3 separate regions of the Homo sapiens genome follow, and all the other regions are linked to region 1. Evidence: promoter capture Hi-C in 16 types of primary human blood cells and fetal thymus (Javierre and others, 2016). All regions are on one chromosome and are shown on one strand. The core of a region is centred on a gene start or on the middle of the fragment in contact, and the rest is flanking DNA. Distances in the headings are between cores, read along the strand shown. Region 1 holds the start of PREB (prolactin regulatory element binding). Region 2 holds the start of MPV17 (mitochondrial inner membrane protein MPV17). Region 3 overlaps PPM1G (protein phosphatase, Mg2+/Mn2+ dependent 1G).

Evidence for each region. The method cuts DNA at HindIII sites, captures the fragments that hold promoters and counts their contacts. A CHiCAGO score of 5 or more calls a contact.
Region 2: a fragment that was not itself captured here is called in contact with the fragment with the promoter of PREB in region 1 in 3 of 17 cell types (total B cells, neutrophils and naive B cells); the score reaches 5.4 in total B cells.
Region 3: a fragment that was not itself captured here is called in contact with the fragment with the promoter of PREB in region 1 in 1 of 17 cell types (neutrophils); the score reaches 5.1 in neutrophils.

What each region holds. Positions count from the first base shown.
Region 1 is chr2:27,133,176-27,137,458 of GRCh38, forward strand. It overlaps PREB (prolactin regulatory element binding), which reads right to left and starts at 1,461. Exons shown (of 9, transcript NM_013388.6): 1 at 1,112-1,461; 2 at 357-546; 3 at 1-162. The coding sequence starts at 1,246. It overlaps PRR30 (proline rich 30), which reads right to left. Exons shown (of 3, transcript NM_178553.4): 3 at 3,673-4,283. The coding sequence ends at 3,916. RefSeq lists a silencer at 1,180-1,279 and enhancers at 1,218-1,874, 1,350-1,399. The HindIII fragment of the contact is 5,539 bases long and covers 1-4,283 here.
Region 2 is chr2:27,320,368-27,324,683 of GRCh38, forward strand. It overlaps MPV17 (mitochondrial inner membrane protein MPV17), which reads right to left and starts at 2,730. Exons shown (of 8, transcript NM_002437.5): 1 at 2,685-2,730; 2 at 2,081-2,155. The coding sequence starts at 2,150. RefSeq lists enhancers at 2,125-2,174, 2,185-2,274, 2,285-2,334, 2,385-2,444, 2,567-3,539 and 3 more. The HindIII fragment of the contact is 4,230 bases long and covers 308-4,316 here.
Region 3 is chr2:27,382,727-27,387,369 of GRCh38, forward strand. It overlaps PPM1G (protein phosphatase, Mg2+/Mn2+ dependent 1G), which reads right to left. Exons shown (of 10, transcript NM_177983.3): 2 at 4,363-4,432; 3 at 3,468-3,553; 4 at 3,021-3,153; 5 at 1,947-2,362; 6 at 1,226-1,366; 7 at 640-874. Among named protein-coding and RNA genes, the nearest start is that of ZNF513, 4.3 kb to the left of the region's middle. The HindIII fragment of the contact is 1,052 bases long and covers 764-1,815 here.

The sequences.
Region 1 (4,283 bases), core at 211-2,710:
TGAAGCACACAACTTTCTGCAGTGGATCGGAGCTAAAGTCTGTCTGCACCGCCTGCAAATTCTCTACCCTGAGTTCTAGCCCCTCGTGCTGGGTTTCCGCTCCACATTTCTTCTCTGCTGGGGCTGCTCCCTTCCTTTGTCGAGGCCCCTGCTCCTTGGAACCTGTAACACAAACACTTGGCCAGGTTCCAGGCTTCTACAGTAAGGAGTACTGGCCCCTCTCTCCATGGCAGGTGCCCATACAACTTCTAGCTTGCTACCAAAACCCTACTTCCAGACCCACTTCTTTAGAGACACCAAGAGTGACCTTACTCGTTCAACCCTTTCCCCAAGGGGGTAGAGAGGGAGCTCCTCACCGGCCTTCTCTGCCTTGTTGCCCTGCTGTTGATGTGCCTGGAAGCGCAGGAGCTGACAGTGGGCATCCTGCCCTGCAGCAAGGATGTCACCAGCCAGTGCCAAGTTCATGGTGGCCCGTGTCTCTGTGTCATGGGAGTGCAGCAAGGAGGCACTCAAGCGCCCATTAATCAGCTCTAGCTGCAGAAAGTGCTGTGGGAGGGGGAACCCGGATGAGCAAGTTCAGGGGTGCCCAGAGAGCACGTTTAGGGAAGAGTCTGATGTCTTACCCCTTTGCTTTCTGCACGTTCTAGTTCACAAGGGTTTCTCGAGTCTTTTTTCTCTCATTTGGGCCTCACAAATCTACACAGTGAGCAGGACTGGGATTATTACCTCTATTTTACAGAACAGGGTGAAGCTCAGGAGAGGGAAGGAACTTAGCCTAAACCCAAATGCACCACTCTCGCCGCTGCTAGAGGGCAGGCAAGACCTCCCGGAAAAGGCCAGTATAAGACCCCTGGAGCTGCTCTGAGGCGGAGCTGAAGCGTTCCTGGCGACTCTGCAGCTGTGTGCAGTTTTCACTTTACCTTAAAAGCCTCTCCTCCGCCCGCTGAGTTCTCGACTGAAATTCGCCCCTGGGCGTCAGGCAAGCGGGTCTTCCCAACAGAAGTGGGCAGGGCCCGAAGCTGGAGTGTGGCCCGCCCCGCGACCCCCCGGCCACCCTGGAATCGCCGCCAGCCCGCAGCAAGACCCAGCCCCAGTGGCCCTGCGCTCTCACCACGCCATTCTTTATGCCTGTCTTGGCGGCGCCTCCTCCGCCCGCAGCGATGAGCAGCCCAGTGCTGGGGTCGACCTGAAGCGCGTACAACGGGAACGGAGCCCGGTACAGCTCTGGCGCCCGGCGCCGGCCCATCCCGCCCGGCGCGCGTTCACTGCCCGCACCGCGGCACCCAGGACATGCCGCGCCGGGCCTTCGACTACTGCCCCGGCGGCTGGTGAACTCGGCCCCGTCGCCGCCGGGAGCACTCCCTACCCCTCTCACACCGGGGAGTTGCCAAAACCCTGACCATCAGCAGGAAGCCGAGCCTCAGCTCGGCTCCGTCCAAGTCGGTCTCGCAGACGCGCACTGCGCATGCGCACCTGTCTCGCGGCTCCCTCCGCGCAGGCGCAGGAGCGCCGACACGCGTCAGCACTAGCCGGCCGCGGGGCCGCGTTTCCCGGGGCGGGGCTTCGGTTCTCCACCCCTGGCGCGGAGGCAGAGTCGCCCAGCACCGACTTCGCCATTTTTGTGCGGGGCGCGGGGCGCGGGCGGAGGAGGTGGAGCCAATGGAGGTTGATGAAGGTCAACCTTTAATAAAGAAATCCGACTCGCGCCTGTAATCCCAGCACTTTGTGAGTCCTAGGCGGGCGGATCAGGAGTTCGAGACCAGCCTGACCAACATGGAGAAACCCCGTCTCTACCAAAAATACAAAGGGCGTGGTGGCGTGCGCCTGTAATCCCAGCTACTCGGGAGCCTGAGGCAGGAGAATCACTTGAACCTGGGAAGTAGAGGTTGCAGTGAGCCGAGATCGCGCCATTGCCATTGCTCTTCAGCCTGGGCAACAAGCAACAAGAGTGAAACTCCGTCTCAAAAAAAAAAAAATCCTCTGCCAGGCACGGTGGTTCATGCCTGTAATCCTCCTGTAATCCCAACACTTTCGGAAAGTCCGAGAGAGGAGGATGGCTTGAGCCCAGGCTTTCGAGACAGCCTGGGCAACATGGGGATCCGTCCCTACGAAATATTTAAAAATTAGCCAAACATCGTGGCACCTGTGGGCCCAGGTGCCCAGGAGGCTCAGGCGGGAGGATCACTTGAGACTGGGAGGTCGAGGCTGCGCTGGACCACCAGTGATGTCACCACTGCACTCCAGCCCCTGGGCAACAGAGCTAGACCCTGTCTCTCACACACATAAAATCCTCAAATAAGGACTGTTCCCATCTGAGGAGTGATATGCCAACTCCTAGGAGCACAGGCCTTTGCATCTTACCTCAGAGAGGAAGTGATTTGCCCGAGGGCACACACCAGAAACCACCGGAGTCTCTTGCTTCTTAACGGAGGCAGCATGAACTTAAAAATAAACCTGACTTCAAATGCTGAATCCATTGCTTCCTCGTATGAGGACACGTCTGTCATCCTTAACGCCTATCGCCCACTTTTGGCAGGGGTGGTGTCTGCCATTCCCTTTCTCAAGGCTTCACACTCCTGGGCTGGTGGCTTGGTGGGTGGCCAGCTGCTTTGCTGGCCTCAGAGGGGGCAGTTTGGCTCCCGGGCAGGTATCTTCTGCGCCTGACACTCCATTCTCCCTCGGGTTTCTGATCTGATGAGGACCTTTGTGCACTCCTGAGAGCGAGCACAAGGGATGTCCTTCCCTGCAAAGAGACGCCCTCTCCTGCATTCTCATTAACCTAAGGTGCACCCAGAGGAATAGCGCAGTGGCTTCATCTTTGGGGATGCCAATATCTGTCCCACAGAGTTGAATTAGATGTGTGAAGGGCCTGGCCAAGCTCTCTGCATATCTCAAGTCCCCAGGCCTTGTGGGTCCCTTGTCCTCCTTGGATACATGGCACCTGCTCTTTCTGGCCTCTCCGTTTCCTTTGACACCACCCTCCAGGGTCTTTTTTATTTTTTGAGACGGAGTCTCGCTCTGTTGCCCAGTCTGGAGTGCAGTGGCCTGATCTCAGCTCACTGCACCCTCCACCTCCCAGGTTGAAGTGATTCTCCTGCCTCAGCCTCCTGAGTAGCTGGAACTACAGGCACCCGCCACCACACCCAGCTAATTTTTGTATTTTTAGTAGAGATGGAGTTTCACCATGTTGGCCAGGCTGGTCTCGTAACTCCTGACCTTAAATGATATGCCCACCTTGGCCTCCCAAAGTGCTGGGATTATAGGCATGAGCAACCACACCATGCCCTCTTTTTTTTTTTTTTTTTTTTGAGATAGGGTCTCTGTCACCCAGGCTGGAGTGCAATGGCATGATATAGCTCATTGCAACCTTGAACTCCTGGACTCAAGTGATCCTCCCACTTTAGCCTCTTGAGTAGCTGGTAGTACAGGCACGCGCCACCATACTCAGCTAATTTTTTTATATTTTTGTTTTTGGAGAGACAGGGTCTTGCTATGTTGCCCAGGCTGGTCTCAAACTCGTGGCTTCAAGTGATCCTCCTACCTCAGCCTTCCAGTGTGTTGGGATTATAGGCATGAACCACCCCCTCCCCGCCACCAAGGGTCTTGTTAGGGACTGGCACCCCTATAGTTACAGCCACCTATTCTGTGGACTCAGCAGGACGCAAACACAAGTTTCACAGGGTCAGACTTTATTAGATACACGGAGGGCTGAATGGGGCCTTGGTGCCCTTGGTCCTCTTCAGCCTGGAGACAGCAGACTCCACAAGGGGCTCCCAGGGTTCAGAGCAGGAGAACACACCTGACCTCCGGCCAGCCAGCCCTTCAGGGTGTCTCGGGGACTCCCCGAGATCTGGGGCCTGGTTGGGAGGGTTGGGTTTGGAGGGGGTGTTCCAGGGGGCCTCCGTGGCTCTGGAACTAGACTGATGACTTTTGGAGAATGAGCTCCAGAGAAACTGGCCTCTTTGGGCCAGGGCAAGGCCTGGGCTTCAGGGAGGTAGTGACCTGTTTTGGTGCCCGAGGTGGAGGCCCGGAGAAACATCGTGGGGAGTTTGGTGATTGAAGGCCTGCAGACCTGAAGCTCCTGGTCTGGGAGGGTGTGCCTGGGACTGGGTCGGCCCGGGCCTGAGCTGCTGGAGGCTGAGATGCTGGCAATTGATGCCCACAGGCCTGAGTAGCCTTGCCCTGAGGCCCTGCTTCCTTCGGCCTTTTCTCGGGCAGCAGATGCAAGGCCCTGGCCTGGCCCTGAGGCAGGCGGAGGCCGAAGCCGATGCCTATCCGGAGTG
Region 2 (4,316 bases), core at 1,173-3,672, 190 kb after region 1:
CTCTTGTTGCCCAGGCTGGAGTGCAATGGCACAATCTTGGCTCACCGCAACCTCTGCCTCATGGGTTCAAGTGATTCTCCTGCCTCAGCCTCCCAAGTAGCTGGGATTACAGGCATGCGCCACCATACCCGGCTAATTTTGTATTTTTAGTAGAGACGGGGTTTCACCGTGTTAGCCAGGTTGGTCTCGATCTCCTGACCTCGTGATCTGCCCACCTCGGCGTCCCAAAGTGCTGGGATTACAGGTGTGAGCCACCGCGCCCAGTCCCTAAACTCAAGTTTTAAAAGAGGAAACTAAGGCTCAAAGAAGCTTACTGACTTGTCCTGATTAATGCACCTACTAGGTGCTATGGTTTTAAGATTCAAATCCTGGTCTTCTAAGTCTGAAATCTCTGTACTGTTTTCCAGTGTGATGAGCTATCCCATGGGACCTTAGGAACTACTGTGCTGGGGTCCAAAAATGGCTCAGTGAACTAAAGCCACTTCCACCTTTTATTTGTAGTTTGATCCAAATACAGTGAACAGCAGGAAAGGAAAAGTCTGGATGGTCTGAAAAAGTCTGGGAAAAGTGCTGGGAGGCTACATTTTGCTTCAGGGCTGAGCTGGGACGTCAGCATAGCCTCAGGAAGACTGAGGCTGTGGAGCTGAAGGGCTCCAGCACCAAGAGCCCAGAACTCCAGCCACATGTCGGCACCTAGGCCTCCTTGGAGCTCTAGCTCCTGCCCTTGTCAGCTGCAGATGCCTCAGGTAGGGAAATATAAGGACTCTTTCCCTCCCTATTCTTGATGACCACAAGGGGGAATCTTCCATCTGGCAGTTATGGGCCCTGAGGGAATCTGAGCCTGGGCAAAGGGCCCAGCGTGTCAGTTCCCATCATAGCCACACTGTCCAGCATGAGTCACCACACACGTAGCCAGGTGAGTCATACAGGCTGACGGACGCTGAGGACAGGACAAGAGGTGGTTGGGCACCGGAGACTGGAGAGGGGCCCAGGGAAGGGCCAAAGAATCCATCTCCTGGCCATTCATGCAGTTAAGTTTCTGTGCCGATGCAGGGCTGTTCTGGTCACAGGATCCCTGTTCCACTCTGGCCTTCAGTAGCCCCCAATCCCTTCCAATAGTCCTCTTCTCAGAAGGCCAGTCATCACTAGAATCCTGTTCCCCTTCTCTAAACATGGGCAAGACCTCATCTTAATGTGATCACTCTTTGCACCCCAATGTTCTAAGGCCTTCTGACATTCCCCCTCTAAGACTTACTTATCTTCATGCCATCCTCTTACATTAGCTAACTTGCAAAATGAAGATGGTAACAAATGCAGGTAGGTCACTGCATTACCTCTGTGAGGTTAGTACTCAATCACTGCATTTGGAGTGACTGGTATCTGATCACTCCAAATGGATCAGGATGGAGTGATCAGATACCAATATACTAACCTTGGAGATACATATTTAGGCAGTAAATGATAACAAAAGCAAATGAACGATATAAACAAAACTCAGGAAATTTTGGGTGAATTACGGAGAGGCACTCAAGAGGTCTCAAAGCTGATTACTGACACAGGAGTGTTCAGTTTTAATGCCATTTAAACTGTACATACACATCTTAATCATTCTTTTGTATGTTTCACAATAAAAAATACCAAGAAAAACTGGGGTAAGAGTCTTGATTCAGCACTTATTAGGTGTGATCTAATGTGGACTCAAGTAACCCTCCTAGCTCACACACCTTTGTGGGGGCCCTATGCCATAACGTATATGAAAGTGCTTTGCATACGGTAAAATGTTTTCCAAGTTGAGGCCTCCTGGGGCAATGCCTTTATCCTTCAGGGCTGACTGTTCAGCTTTTTGAGGACTTTGAAATCCTAAAACCCTACTGCACAGCTTGGCCAACTACGCATACCCCTTAAAAACAGCCTTGGGGACCACCCTCCAAAACAGACTGGGGACAGTGTAGGATGAAAGACAGCCAACCCTTCAAGAGAGCCGAATAGAAACAGGAAGTGAGGGTGGTGCAGTGGGGCAAGCCTCTGGCTTCCAAATCAGTCTGCCCTGGTCCCACTCAAGTCCTAGAGGGACACTCACCAGCTGTCAGGACCTGTACTTTCCACGGGTGAGCGGCCAGGGCCCGCTGGTATGCCCGCCAGAGTGCCATGCTTCCTGTCAAGCCAAGAGGAGAGGGGGTCACCCCCACCGTCCCTCTCCACGACTAAGAAGCCGCCTGACATTCCCTTGTGCCCACTCCCTTCCCCTTCCCACTTCCAATGTGACTTAAAGGGGCAGAGGCCACATGAAGGATGCTTCCCAGACAGCTTCCTGTCGCAGGAGTCGCCTTAGACAATTGGGGAAGAGAGAAAGGCTGTGGGAAGCTATGGACTCCTGGTAGCAGCCACCAGCCACCCCAACCTCATTCCTGAAGCCAGACCACCTGGAAGCCTCCGTTCCCGACGGAGACACTCATGAGGACAGCTTTGCTCTGGCTTCTACCCAGAGCTTGGGTGCCTCAAAAGATAGCTTGGTCCGTCTCCAGATTCAGACTTGGTTGGAACCAGTTTGTAACCTTCCTGAGTCCAGCTCCAAACCGAAAATAGGGCCCGTCACTGCCCGGATATAGGATGACCACACACCTTGTGGGCACTCATGGCTTGCGACGCTTTAAGCCAGAGACCGCAGATCACCCGCCACTCACCTGAGCGCCGAGCCTCCCTCCCACGTGACAGGCTGGCCTAGGAACTTCCGCCACAAGTCCCGCCCCTTCCTCCCAGCGTCCTTCGGATTACGCAGCCAGGACAGGAATGGGGGTGGACCGAGCCATGAATACCCGTGGAGAGCGGCCTAACTCGGCCACCCACTCTGTGAGAGACCCCTTTTCCAGCTGGACTGTGCCGGACCCTGGTGTGGGGCCCGCCAGCCATATTTCTCACCTAAGTTCGACCCTCTGCCTCCTCCTGCCCCTTCTCTCCGCGCGAGACCCGGGCCTCTCTCAATCCGGTAGTCTCATTGTTCAGCCCACCCTCCCCGCATAACTGGCCATAACTACGATCCTTGTCTCAGCAATCGTAGTTAGGGAACTATAAGTTATAGTTAAGTGCGTGTTTTGTCTCTAGGTTCTTCACTGGCCTCAACTGTGAGCTCATGAGTGGGTAAAACTGGGGTCGTTCATATTTGTCGTCCTCATAGCAACTATTTCAGTGCTTTGCCGCAAACAGCCACTTAAGAAATACTGCGTATGTATGATTCTTCCACAGAAAGCATTGGAATTAGAACCTCAGAAGACATTAGGTATTGGCTCCCAAACTAACGGGCTGTGCAGCCTTGGTCATGACTAGACTTGATGTTAAGGCTCTGCATCTGTAAAATGAGGGAGGTTACACTATTGACTTTCCAAACTCGGCTCCTCAGTTCTAGGGATTTTTCAGATGTTTGTGTGTGGGGATGAGAGGGGCAGCATTACTACAGCTGCTTCTCCAACTTTTTTTTCCAAGTATATACTTCTCAAAAGACCCATTTTTAACGGGGCCCACAACTGCATGTTTGAAAACCAGTAAGCTAGGTGATTTCTTAATCCCCTTCCAGCTCTAACATTCTAAGAGTCTGTGAATATAGAGCAATATCCTTTCTAGAGCGTTGGAAATGTCTACAATATCCCTGGCAATGGACTTGTCAGGCTGGCAGGCTTTACTTATCTCCAGGGAGCCCACACGTCAGGAGGCACACTCTTTCAGGCTCTCCACCTGCCCAGCTCCACCCCCAATTTACTCAATTCCTTTATGATTAAGGCAGGGAGACTCCTGCCACAAATCCTGGAGAAACAGAGTAAGGAAGCAAGAGAAGTCAATGTCACAAACATTTAACTAAAATGCTATTTGCAAAACAGCATGCTAGAGGAGTGAACTGACAAAAGTAAATGTAATAGGAGACCAAATGTGGTAGGCTGTAAAGTTATATTCTGAAGTTAGACTGAGTTCAAATCCCCAGCACCACCACTTACTAGTTATATGACCTTGACCTTTTACAGACAGCTTACCCTCTCCAACTCTTTTATCATTAAGTAAAATGGCAATACCTACCTCATACAAGTGACACATGCGAAGTGCCTAAAATGGATCAAGTGCTTAATGCTTGTTTATCCTTTTTCCTCCCTTCCCCCTTGGGAACACAAGGGAGGGAAACTATTTTTTACTGGAGAAAACTGGGAAGCTCTTTGGTGAAGGTGGAATTTGAGCCGGGACCTTGAAGGATGAATTGAACTCAGGTGAAGATGGTGGAAAAAGACACTCTGGCGAAGGGAGGAATATGAGAAGAGGAATAAAGGTAGAGA
Region 3 (4,643 bases), core at 40-2,539, 250 kb after region 1:
GAACTGAGTCCTAAGTCCTAGTTTTTCTAGTTTCAACCCTGCCACCAGACTGCTGAACCTTAAGAAAGTCACTCACTGGTCTTTTTATTTTAAGTCTTTTTTGTTTTTTTTTTTTTGAGACGGAGTTTCACTCTTGTAGCCCAGGCTGGAGTGTAATGGCACGATCTCGGCTCACTACAACCTCCGCCTCCCGGATTCAAGCGGTTCTCCTGCCTCAGCCTCCTGAGTAGCTGGGATTACAGGCTTGCACTACCATGCCCAGCTAATTTTTGTATTTTTTTTTTTTTTTAGTAGAGATGGGGTTTCACCATGTTGGCCAGGCTGGCCTCGAACTCCTGACCTCAGGCGATCCACCAGCCTCAGCCTCCCAAAGTGCTGGGATTACAGGCGTGAGCCACCACGCCCGGCACTCACAGGTCTTTTTCATCATTCAAATGTTACATAAGATGGGTATAATGATACCTATGTATAATGATACCTCTACCCATCTTAGTTATTTCACAGAAATATAAGAACAGAGGTAGTAGATATTAAAGTGCTTTGAAAGGCACAAGCACTAGGAAGATTAAAGTTTGCTACTAGGTAGTCTGGGACAGAGAGAAAGACCCTAGAAGTCTTTCCCAGTTTCTTGGCCCTTACCAATGGCTCTGGAGAGGTTGAGGCCCCCGTTGACTCGCCCATCCATGGTGACCTTGCCACCAGCATTCTTGATGCGTGCTAGTTCTACTTCATCCTCTGGTTTGTGATCATAGGACATGTCTAAAGCTTTGCCAGCCTCAGATACCACACAGCGAGAGTCTCCTGCGTTGGCTACAATCAACTGCTTCCCTCGTATCAGGGCCACCACCGCTGTTGTACCACTGTCAGAGCCAGGCTTAAGAGGAAGAAAAGGAGCATCATGGGGGCTTCTGAACATGCGTTCCTCACTGATGTGCTCCTGATCGTTCACCTATGCTTGCTTTCACTGGGACCCCCAAAAGAGCTTTAACAAACAGGAGAAGCACACATTTCATCTTTCTAGAGACAGCAGCACACTCCCTCTCCCTTGTTTTTAGATAATTCAACCCCAAAGGCTTACCATCTCATTCCCCTTGCAGAATAAATCCCCATGACTATTACTTCCATCCTAAAGTATCAGGGGGATCCCCTGTCTCAAAATCAAAATTAGGGGATTCACACCTGCCTTGTGGCTTTTCAAGACTCATTGCTCCCCTTCCCCACACACCTCCTCTTTGCCTTCCATCCCTGGCACCATCATCTCTTCTTCTTCTTCTTCATCGTCCTCTTCAGCCTCCTCGGTGTCATCCTCATCTTCCTCATTCTCTGCCTCCTCACTGCTGTAGCCATCCTCTTCCTCGCTGCATTCCTGCCAGGGGGAGGATCCCAGACTGCTGAGACTGGGATGATCCCCTCCCTCCCCACAGCTCATACTCAGAATCAAGAGGTCCTGACTGAACACAGGTCCTCAAAACACTGAAAGATACAAGTATATGGTCATGAAAATTGGGGGGATGGAAAGGGCTAGCATGAGTACAACTGACATCCTGAACTGGGCTTAGCAGTCACTAGCAAAAAGCCCAGGACAAGGCAAGGGCTGCCAGCCAAAAATATCTTTCAGGCACTGTGGCCAGAAAATAAATTTTCCAGAGAAGAAAACAGTCAACTAGCCAAGGTAACAACTATCTCCTTGTTCTCTCTCTAGGAGACAGACTCTGAAAAGCCAGAACTAGATCTGCTTGTTATAGTACCAACAAAGGAAGAGGTAAAAAGGCAAATGGTACCTGTGATGATGGAGCTCAATGAATTCAAGACTAAAGCTTAGAATACAGTGGGTCTTGGGGGATGATGTCAAAATAGGAGAAGGAAAGAGAGTTGAAAACTACAGACGGCAACCAAACAGGACCTCTCTGCAACTTCAGCATCTGCCTGCCCTCACAGGCCCTTACCTCACTGTCTTCCTCTTCTTCCTCCGCCTCATCTGACTCATCCTCACTGTCCTCAAAGAACTTGGACTTAGCAACTCGAGGCAGCTTGTCAGAGGCTGAAGAGCAGGAAGGCCCAGCCTCACCAGTGGGAATGCCAGGCTCACCAACTTGGCCTGCCTCAGTCCCACGTTCCGAGTTGGAGGAAAAGCCTGTGTAGGCCTTGGCTGTGGGGCCATTTTCTTGTGAAGGAGTTTCCCTAGTTGAGTCCTCAGGTCCTGCCTCCCCATTGAGGCCCTGGGACCCTGGTTCCTCGCCTGTCCCACCTCCAGATTTGCTGTGGGGAGGGCCCTTGTGACAGTTCTGCCCGTAGCGTGTCAGCAGCTCTTCAATAGTCATGGTAGCCTCTTCATGCAGCAGTGCAGCCTCCTCATTGTCCACTGCAGGGAAGAGGCTAAATCAGAGCCCCCATGCCAGACTCCTCATGGGATCCGTCCCTCTCACTACCTCAACAGCCCTTGCAGCCTCTAACTTCCCCACAACCTCCCACTCCCAAGGTTCCTCTCGCTCAAGTCTCAGAAGAACATGCCCTAGCTCCTCCTCCTCCACAGACTTCTTTTGGTTTTTGTGTTTCATCCCCTTCTTAATCAAAACAACACTAGTTACTATACTTCCCCTCTGACGTCTCATTTTTTATTGTTAAGTTGTAAAAACCCTATTCTGGCTGAGGATCCAGGAAGCCCACAATGCTACTGTGAATTAGGATTTAGGCTTAATGATTGGCTATTGGGGCTAATAACTGCTCCAGTCTTGAGGGGAAAAAAAAGCACATAAATACTAGCAGGAACCAGGAAGACCCCATCACAATGACAAAAGATAATGTATATACAATGCTTACAGCTCAGATGCCACTCAACGAAGATAATTCTCTCCCTCCTTTTCATAACCACATACAATGCAGGAGAACATCATAGGTTTCTTTAACATAAGGACTCCCCAGGTCCCTAGAAAGCCATCCTATCTTAGAATTGATAAGTAATATTAAAGAATATTTCTTAAAATGCTGATTTCCCCTCAAACAAGGGATGCCACACTCACCATCATCTTCATCAGCTACTTTTTCTTTTTCATCTTCATCCTCAGTGGGTCGCCCTGCAATCTGTGCCAGCTCTTTAATGACTTCTTCAGTGGTCAATTTGGCGTCAATAGCCAAGAAGGCATCTTCTAAAGCCTGAATATAAGCAAAATAGTCTAAGACTAGTACAAAATGAACTCCCTATATACAATCCTGAGCACAAGGATGGAATACAAATTAAGAGTGTGAGCCACCACACTAAGAGACACTCACAGATAAAAACAGCTCAGAGGCCTAGGAATAATAAGGCAAGTCTAAAAGGCGGCCAATAAGCTCGTTTTAGGAACAGAATTCTTCAAGAGTAAATAAGCAGCAGCAGCTAGAGGACAAAAAGAAAGGAAAAGCCCAAGGGCTAGAGAACAAGGGAAAAGCCTACACAAGTGAGGAATGGGCGGTGTAAGCAGACAGACCTTCTGTAGCTTGCCTTCCTTGTAGGCCTTCTGATCTTTGATGATATCAGGAAGATATTTGGCACAGTACAAGGCAACTTCCTCCCCTAGAAGGAAAGGAAGGAAGGTCACCTGGAGCACTGCTCCCCACACATAGAAAGTGATACAATATTTATATGCCATACTGGAGTGAACCCCAAGGGTTGAGGGGATAAATATCTTAGCACCCCTGAACCCTATTTGAAGGACACTGTTTGGGGAAGTTCTGATCCAAAAAAATGGATTTCACCATCAATTCTCTCGGGTATAAATATCTCGTCTTTTCTCACCTGTATACTTAGTTCTCCAGTGAAAAAAAGATAAAGAATCAGCTCAACTGGGTACACTTTTTTGTTTTTTAAGACAAGAGTCTTGCTCTGTTGCCCAGGCTGGAGTGCAGTGGCATGGTCTTGGCTCACTGCAACCTCCACCTCCCAGGTTCAAGCGATTCTCCTGCCTCAGCCTTCCGAGCAGCTGGGACCACAGGCGCCCACCACTACGCCCAGCTAATTTTTGTATTTTTAGTAGAGATGGGGTTTCACCATATTGGTCAGGCTGGTCTCGAACTCCTGACCTCGTGATCCACTGTGCCGGGATTACAGGTGTGACCTACCGCGTGCCCAGCCTAAAAATTTTAAAAAATAAAAATAAAAAAAGATAGAGGCTCTTTGGATTAAAACAAGTCCTGGTGAGATTATAAACCAATACAGTACCTACTGGGAAAAAAGAATGACAGAATACAGAAAAACAGCACCACGCAGGAAATGATAATGAGGGCCAGACCCTGGAAAGTAAATGAACAAAGGGACCTGTTCTTGCCCTGGAACGTCTGGAATTGGGGTCCTAGAATGTTACCAATATGATCTGTTAAAGTTACCTCCATGTCCATCGTAGACAGAAAACATGGCTGTCTCACTGTCCAGCTCAGGAATACAGTTGTGAGCATCCTAGGAAAAGAAGAGCATAATCGGCATGTCTCAAGGTCGAAGAATATTCCTCAGGTCATAGGGATCAATGTCACCCCTTACTAACCTTTCCCTGGCTGGCCTATATGGCCTAGAAATAAGAAAGGAAGAAGGAATGATAAAATAAATACAGAGGAAGAAAAGAGGAGGGAGGCAAAGGAGGAAAGGGGAAGGAGAAAAGGAAGAAAGAATC